Linked DNA regions of Homo sapiens: all the other regions are linked to region 2. The links are contacts of gene promoters, found by promoter capture Hi-C in human tissues and cell types (Jung and others, 2019). All regions are on one chromosome and are shown on one strand. Each heading gives the region's core, a stretch centred on a gene start or on the middle of the fragment in contact. The rest is flanking DNA. Distances are from core to core; before and after follow the strand shown. Region 1 overlaps EXD3 (exonuclease 3'-5' domain containing 3). Region 2 holds the start of TOR4A (torsin family 4 member A). Region 3 overlaps EXD3 (exonuclease 3'-5' domain containing 3).

Region 1 (2,700 bases), core at 140-2,639, 44 kb after region 2:
ACAGCTGGCGCTGCCCTCTCCAGCCTGGACAGTTGCTGGCCCCCCACGGGGGTGCAGCTCTGGCCTTAGCCCCTCCCAGGCCTGCTCTACCTGCAGCCCCCCTGGGCCTGGCGCTCCTGCTTGCCACAGCAGGGGCAGCTTGGGGGTTGCAGGGTGTGGGTGGCAGAGTGGCATCAGCAGCTTGGAGCTGCCAGTAGCCAGCAAAGAGGCAGGGCGGACATGGGTCAGGGCGGCCCCCACTGCTCAGCCCCCGACGCCCCCATCCCATCCACTCAGCCAGGCCAAAGTCTGCCCTTCTGCCTCACACCCTGGACACCCTTCTCCATGCAGGGCTTGGCGGCCCCTCCATGCCTGGCCTGGGTCCTCAGGGGCACTCCCCAGCACCCGGCTGGCCAGGGCTCCAGCAGGGGTTTCCTCCCAGCTACCCAACTTCCTGTTTTCTCAAGAAAATGCAGCAGCCGATTCTGAACAGCTCATTAACATGCCTCCCCAGGCGTCCCGGACATCCTGGGGTCTTTACAGCGCTTGCTGGCCTGAGCACAGACAAAGAGAGGCAGCGGACGCGGTTCCTGCCGCCCCTGGAGCCCAAGGCTGCAGGAGAGGCCCCTGGAGCACACTTCCTTGCCACCTGAGGCAGAGGCCGCGGTCCCCGCAGGGCAGTGGGGTCAGAGGGTCAGACTGCACCCCCAGGCCAGGGGCAGTGGGAGGTCCAGGGGCCTGTGTGTACAGGTGCCTGGCCGGCTGCAGATCCGAGCCGAGCCGGAGCTTTCCCTCTTTCCTTCCTGCTTCAATCCCCGCCAGGCCCAGCCTGAGGCTGTGGGGGCAGAAGGGCGGTAGCAGAAGGCGCAGGCCTGCATCTGTTTCTGCTCAGCCAGGTGGGTGCCCTTGAGGACCATGGGGTGGAGCTGAGCTCAGGGCCCCTCCCTGCCCAGCCCAGGCACCAGCAGGGACCCTGACAGTGGCCTCCATGAGGGGATCTCCCTCCATGAGGGGGTCCCAAAACTTCCCCCAGAATTGGGCTTGGGAGGCTGGGATTACTCACGCCTGTCATCCCAGCACTTTGGGAGGCTGAGGCAGGAAGATCACCTGAGGTCAGGAGTTCAAGACCAGCCTGACCAACATGGTGAAACCCTGTCTCTACTAAAAATACAAAAATTAGCCGCCCGTGGTGGTGGGCACCTGTAATCCCAGCTACTCAGGAGCCTGAGGTGGGAGAATTGCTTGAACCTGGGAGGCGGAGGCTGCAGTGAGCTGAGATTACATCACTACACTCCAGCCTGGGCGATGGAGTGAGACTCCGTCCCACCCCCAAAAAACCCCAGGAAACAAAACTGGGCTTGTTGGAGCAGCCCCGACCTGCTGCTCCAGGCGGAATATTGATGTGGCCCTAACTGCGGAACGTTCTGGAAGCAGCCCGTACCCTCCACCGGGAACTGCCGAGAGCCAGCACAGCCCACAGTCCCCCTTGCTCCCGTGTCGCCCACGGAGACCCTGGCGCCTTGAGTGGAGGCGCAAAAGGCAGCATCAACTCCCCCCAGACTGGCCATGCCCAGGTGCCAGTTGGTGTGGGGCATAGCAAGCTTGGACAGTGCAGCCCTGGGCAGGTGCCTCAGCCCAGTCCCCCACTGGGGACAGGAGAGGAGGGAGAGAGGTGAGTTGGGCTTTGGTGCCCCCACCAGCCTCCTCTATGGATCTCCACCGAGGTGCGGCAGTTCCCACTCAGGGCTTCTGTTGCCCAGACCTTGTTAGACGTCACCAAGCAGACGCAGGCTGTCCTGCGTGTTGCCTTTGGAAAGTGGGACCCACCCAGCCTGAAGGGACTTCCACAATTTCCCTCGATTCCTTCTAGAAGCCCCATGGGAGCCAGAGGGAATTCCCCAAATCCAAGCCAATGCCTGATTGGAGCTGTCCCCGTGGCCATGCCAGCCTGCACTAGGGATGCTCTGCCGACGCCTCACCCTGGACCAGGGATTCTCTGCCGACACCTCACCCCGGACCCACAAGGGATTCTCTGCCAACATCTCACCCCAGACCCACGAGGGATGCTCTGCCGACACCTCACCCCGGACCCACGAGGGATGCTCTGCCGACACCTCACCCCGGACCACGAGGGATGCTCTGCCGACACCTCACCCCGGACCACGAGGGATGCTCTGCCGACACCTCAACCCGGACCACGAGGGATGCTCTGCCGACACCTCACCCCGGACCACGAGGGATGCTCTGCCGACACCTCACCCCGGACCACGAGGGATGCTCTGCCGACACCTCACCCCGGACCCCCGAGGGATTTTCTGCCGACACCCCACCCCGGACCCCCAAGAGATTCTCTGCCGACACCCCACCCCAGACCCACGAGGGATGCTCTGCCGACACCCCACCGCGGACCCCCGAGGGATTCTCTGCCGACACCCCACCCCGGACCCACGAGGGATGCTCTGCCGACACCCCACCCCGGACCCACGAGGGATGCTCTGCCGACACCCCACCCCGGACCCACGAGGGATGCTCTGCCGACACCCCACCCCGGACCCACGAGGGATGCTCTGCCGACACCCCACCCCGGACCCACGAGGGATGCTCTGCCGACACCCCACCCCGGACCCACGAGGGGTGATCTGCCGACACCCCACCCCGGACCCACGAGGGGTGATCTGCCGACACCCCACCCCGGACCCACGAGGGGTGATCTGCCGACAC
Region 2 (2,700 bases), core at 66-2,565:
GAGGCTTTGCTGCAGGTTTTCCAGGGCTCGGTCAGCCTGCATCTGCCCGAGGGCCTCCCCTCCAGGGTCCTCTCTGTGTCAGAAGAAGCACCGAGACTCAAAGCCTGAGGCCCCCAAAGGACCCCAACCTCCGTGCTGGGGCCACGGGGCCTGGACAGCCAACCTCCTTCCGCTCTGGTCCCACAGAGGCCGGGGAGTGGGCCCAAAGAGCACCAGCATTCCACCTGGTGTGTGCGGCCCCCGCGGCCTCGACAATTGGGGATCCGGGCCCCCGAGCACCCCTTGCACAGGGGAGGGGAGCCCTAGGCCTGGCTCCTGGAGGGGAGCGTGATAGTCCGGTGGACCCCATACCCTGGAGAGAATGGAAACCCCCAACCCACGACCGGTTTCCCTGATGGAGCCTGTCTGGTTGGGTGCAGTGTGTGAGGAATATACAGCTGGAACCATCAGGCCCGGGCTGGCTGTTGGGAGGAGTGGGGCGTCCCTGGGACTGCGGGGTCCTGAGCTGAATGCCAGCAGCACTGGTGTGGCTGGAGCGGCCACCTTGCCCCTCCTTGGAAGGCGGCTTCCAGGCTGGGCCAGGGTAGGAGGAGTCCAGGGTCCTTTAGGCAGGCCGGCAGGGGGAAGGGCCCAGAGCTCCAGCTCCTGGCTCCCGGCCCAAGTTGTTTCTAAATTTGTTCCCCAACCCCCACAGGGACCCTGAGCCGCACGTGGTTTTTTCCGTGATAGAACTTCCGTCTGTGTGTGCTGGCCTGTCCTGGGCAGGGGGCTCCAGGCTGGGGACGGAGGAAGGGGGAAAGGAAAGACAATGAGCCCACTTTGGGGGGCCCCCGATTGGGGTCAGGAGGGGAATGAAAAAGCGGGGAGAGGAGTAATAAGAGAGGGATTGGGGGTATGCAGCTCGGCAGAGGACCCTGCCCGCCCCCTGTGCTGCTGCCTTGCTCCCGCCTTGCTTACACAGGGCCTGGAGCCCCTCCCCCCAGCTGTAAGCCCTGTGTGTGGGGTGACAGGTGGAAGGGATAACCTGGGGGAGGTGGGGGCCCTGGAGGACAGGCTGAGGTGCAGGAGCCCAGGGTGGGGGCACAGCATGCAGCAGGGGCCCTCGGCCTCACCAGGTGTCCTGAGCCTGACCAAGCCAGGAGGGCTCTGAGCGCTAGAGAACTGAAGCGGGAATGTGACCTCCGGCCAGGGGATCTGGGCAAGCCGGCCAGGCCTCCCCCCTTTGGCGCCTCCGTCCAGCCCAAGTCCCGCCTGGGCCGCACCCCCTGACTCACTTCCTTTGCATAGAAGCGGAAACCTCCCCAGAGCTTCCTCTACTCCGGCCGGCCGCTCCCTGGGGACCCACAGGTGTCGCTGCCCCTCCAGGCCGAAGCTGGCCCAGGAGGCCCCTGGCCCACCCCCTCGCCCTGGGAGGCGCATTTCCTGCTTGGAGTCTCAGGCCCCAGCGTCTGGCACAGGCAGGGGCCTGCGGAGCTGAGGGCAGTGGACCAGCTGCAGGTAGGGGGTGGGTTGGGGCCCAGGGCCCAGTTCCTGCCAGTCAGTGGCTCTCTTGCTCCGACCGGCCTCTTCTTTCTGTCCATCTTTTCGTTTCACCTCCACTAGTCTCCGGGGGGCTCCCTGCACTGCTCAGCTCGTTCACTGGAGGGGTGTTGGGAGGACCCCAGTTTTGGAGTCGGGGCTGGGAGGCCTGGGTTGAGCCTGGGGACGGGGCCCGGGCCTATTCTCAAAATCATAAGTTCCAGCCAGACCCCCGCCAAGTGTTCTGGAGCGTGTGGGGGCGTCTCTGAACTCCTGGGCGCTCAGGCCTCTGCTTCCCGCGGCCCCTCCTTGGGAGACGGCCCAGTCCAGTGGGAGCCGCGGGCGGGGGCAGGGTCCGGGGGTGACTGTTCACCCCAGTGGGCGCCTGGGCGGCCACTGACTCCTTCGACGACTCCTCCAGGAAGCCGGGGCGGCCACCAGATAAGCCTCTACCCCGCCACTTCCTCAAGGCCCGCGGCCGTTTATGGGAAGACCCGAGAGATTTGCATCGGGGCCCTGCGGAGGGGCGGAGGGGCGGAGGGGCGGAGGGGTCGCTTGCCGGTCTGAGGGGCGAGGCCGCGACCAGGCCCCTGGCCCTGGGGCAGCCCGGGCCGCACCCCACGGGACTCCCAGGGGGTAAGATCACTCCGGGGACCGGTTCCGGCGGCCCGCGGGAAAGGGCAGTGGCGGGAGTCCAGAGACCCTCCCCGTCTTCCCGTTGCAGGGAGGGCGACCTGTATGCGGAGCGCCGTTCCTGCGACATGGACCGCGGCCAGCCCAGCCTGGAGCCTGCTGCCGCGGCCCCCCGAGCCTCGGGCCGGTGCGTGATCGCGCCCGTGCGCGCTGTGCTCCGCCTGCGCCGCCGGGTGTGTGTCCTACGCAAACGGCGCCTCCTGCAGCCGGGTGGGGGGCCCGACGTCGGGACCGGGGCGCCCAGGCCGGGCTGCAGCCCCCGGGCACCGCGCGCGGACCTGGACCAGCCAAAGTTCTTCACCTTCGACAGCCCCGCGGAGCTACCCTCCAGGACGCCACGCAAGAAGCGCCGGCGCAGCCGCCTGGTGCTTTACCCGGAGACCTCGCGCAAGTATCGGCCGCGCGTGGAGCACAGGAGCCGCGCGCAGCGCTGCCTTCTGCTGCTAGTCGCCATCGTGGGCTTCCAAGTTCTCAACGCTATCGAGAACC
Region 3 (2,700 bases), core at 136-2,635, 61 kb after region 2:
GTAACTGCATGGAAAATCTGATGAATGTACCATCACAGGAACCTTCTGTATGTCTCTCTTGGTAGAATCAGGCAGAAAAGTAAATAGGATAAAGATGATTTAGGCTGGGTGCGGTGGCTCACACCTATAATCCCAGCAGTTTGGGAGGCCAAGGCGGGCGGATCACAAGGTCAGGAGTTCCAGACCAGCCTGGCCAATATGGTGAAACCCTATCTCTACTAAAAATACAAAAATTAGCCGGGTGTGGTGGCGGACACCTGTAATCCCAGCTACTTGGGAGGCTGAGGCAGGAGAATTGCTTGAACCCGGGAGGCGGAGCTTGCAGTGAGCCGAGATTTCGCCACTGCACTCCAGCCTGGGCGACAGAGCGAGATTTCTTCTCAAAAAAAAAGATGTTTTGAACGACACATTTGGCAAGCTGGATCTACTGAGTGTGTGCATATGTTGGGGGGTAGGTGGAGTGGGAGGGAGAGAGGGGGAGAGAGATGAGCATGACTGGAAGGGAATACCATGTATCTTTTTTTTGTTTTGTTTTTTGAGATGGAGTCTTGCTCTGTTGCCCAGGCTGGAGTGCAGTGACGCAATCTTGGCTCACTGCAAGCTCCACCTCCCGGGTTCATGCCATTCTCCTGCCTCAGCCTCCCGAGTAGCTGGGACTACAGGCGCCCACCACCATGCCCAGCTAATTTTTTGAATTTTTAGTACAGACAGGGTTTCACTGTGTTAGCCAGGATGGTCTCGATCTCCTGACCTCGTGATCTGCCCGCCTCGGCCTCCCAAAGTGCTGGGATTACAGGCGTGAGCCACTGTGCCCAGCCAATACCATGTATCCTTTTACAGTCCATGTGGATCATTTATAAAAAGGACCATCTACTTGGCTACAAAGCAAATCTTAAGAAATTTCCAAAATTGGAAATATACAGACTATTTTCCTGAAGTTAGGTTAGAAATCATTTTTAAGAAGATAACTAAAAAGCCCCAAGATCCAAGCTTTCTAAAATTGAAAAACCTTCTAAAGAACGAAGTCAAATAAGCAATCATAATTGATATTCAAACGTTGTTAGAACTAAAAACAATGAAAACACTGTATATCAAAACTGATATAGCGCAGTGAAAACAATACTTTGAGAAAAATTTATGGCCTTAAACACTTATATCATAAAATATAAGAGTCTGAAAATTAAAGAGCTAAGCAACGCCACTTGGAAACAAACCCAAGAAAGCAAAAGGAAGGAAATTATAAAGATAAGAACAGAAATTGATGAGATAGACAACAAAAATGCAATAGAAAGACTTAACAAAGCCAAATACTGGTTATTTTAAAAGGCAGTAAGTTGGCCGGGCGCAGTGGCTCACGCCTGTAATCCCAGCACTTTGGGAGGCTGAGGAGGGCAGATCACGAGGTCAGGAGATCGAGACCATCCTGGCTAACATGGTGAAACCCCGTCTCTACTAAAAATACAAAAAAAAAAAAAAAAGCTGGGAGTGGTGGCGGGCGCCTGTAGTCCCAGCTACTCGGGAGGCTGAGGCAGGAGAATGGCGTGAACCCGGGAGGCGGAGCTTGTAGTGAGCCAAGATCGCGCCACTGCACTCCAGCCTGGGCAACAGAGCGAGACTCCATCTCAAAAAAAAAAAAAAAAAGGGCAGTAAGTTGACACATCTCTGCGAGAGCATGAGAAGAGTGAGAGCAAAAGGAAGCCACAATAAAAGAGAGGGAACCCAGCTGCAGACACAGCAGAGCCTTAAGAGCGGACACCGACAATCTATAACAATCTATACTTACATATTTGAAATGTCGGATTAAATGGACACATTCCAGAAAAATTATAAATTACCAAATGTGATCAAGAAGACACAGCCAGCCAAGTGGTTCTATAACTATTAATAAAACTCAGTATCAGAACATTCTCCCCAAAGAAAACATCAGGCCAGGAAGCCTCACAGGAAGTGAGCCAGTTTCAGGAGCAGATAATTTAAACATTACTCAGTTGCAGAAAAAAGAGGGAAAACTTCCCAATGTATTTATGAGGCCAGAAAAAAAGAGAAAGGAAAATTATATGTCAGATGTACCCAGAAAGATGGATGCAAACTTCCTAACAAAAATCACAGACCAGGCCGGGTGAGGTGCCACATGCCTGTAGTCCCAGCCATAGTCTCACTGAGGTGGGAGGATCACTTGAGCCCAGGAGTCTGAGGCCAGCCTGGGTAACACAGCAAGACGCCACTTCAAAAAAAAAAAAAAAAAAAAAATCACAGACCAAAGTCCGCAATGTATTAAGAAGGGTAATATGCGGGACCAAGTTGAATTTAACCCAGGAAAGAAAAATTAGTCCCAAATTCAAAGAGCTAATAATGTCATTCATCACATTTACAGATTAAAGGAAAAATAACCTTATGAGTATCTGAAAAGCTGCCAGGAAAGCATTAGGTAGGTCGAATTCAATGTTCATTCATAACAAAAACCTACAGCAAATGTGGAATCATGGAACTGCCTCAGCCTGGTACAGAATATTGAGCAACCACCTTACTTCATGTTAAAACATTCCTTTCTAAATCAGAAACAAGACAAGGATGGCTACCATCAGCATTTCTATTCGACACTGTCTTGGAGATCTTGACTAATGAAATAAGATAAAGAAGGAAAAGATATAAGGATTGGAAAGGAAGAAATAAAACCCTCATAGTTTGCAGATGACGTGT

Evidence for each region. The method cuts DNA at HindIII sites, captures the fragments that hold promoters and counts their contacts. A contact is called where the count stands out against the background at its distance.
Region 1: a fragment that was not itself captured here is called in contact with the fragment with the promoter of TOR4A in region 2 in 1 of the 25 tissues and cell types used here (pancreas).
Region 3: a fragment that was not itself captured here is called in contact with the fragment with the promoter of TOR4A in region 2 in 1 of the 25 tissues and cell types used here (dorsolateral prefrontal cortex).

What each region holds. Positions count from the first base shown.
Region 1 is chr9:137,320,379-137,323,078 of GRCh38, forward strand. The region is part of intron 19 of EXD3 (exonuclease 3'-5' domain containing 3); the gene reads right to left. Among named protein-coding and RNA genes, the nearest start is that of NRARP, 19 kb to the left of the region's middle. RefSeq lists enhancers at 1-577, 578-1,211. The HindIII fragment of the contact is 3,018 bases long and covers 1-2,700 here.
Region 2 is chr9:137,276,411-137,279,110 of GRCh38, forward strand. It overlaps TOR4A (torsin family 4 member A), which reads left to right and starts at 1,316. Exons shown (of 2, transcript NM_017723.3): 1 at 1,316-1,497; 2 at 2,243-2,700. The coding sequence starts at 2,280. RefSeq lists silencers at 1,217-1,536, 1,817-1,876. The HindIII fragment of the contact is 16,896 bases long and covers 1-2,700 here.
Region 3 is chr9:137,337,269-137,339,968 of GRCh38, forward strand. The region is part of intron 17 of EXD3 (exonuclease 3'-5' domain containing 3); the gene reads right to left. Among named protein-coding and RNA genes, the nearest start is that of NRARP, 36 kb to the left of the region's middle. The HindIII fragment of the contact is 4,297 bases long and covers 1-2,700 here.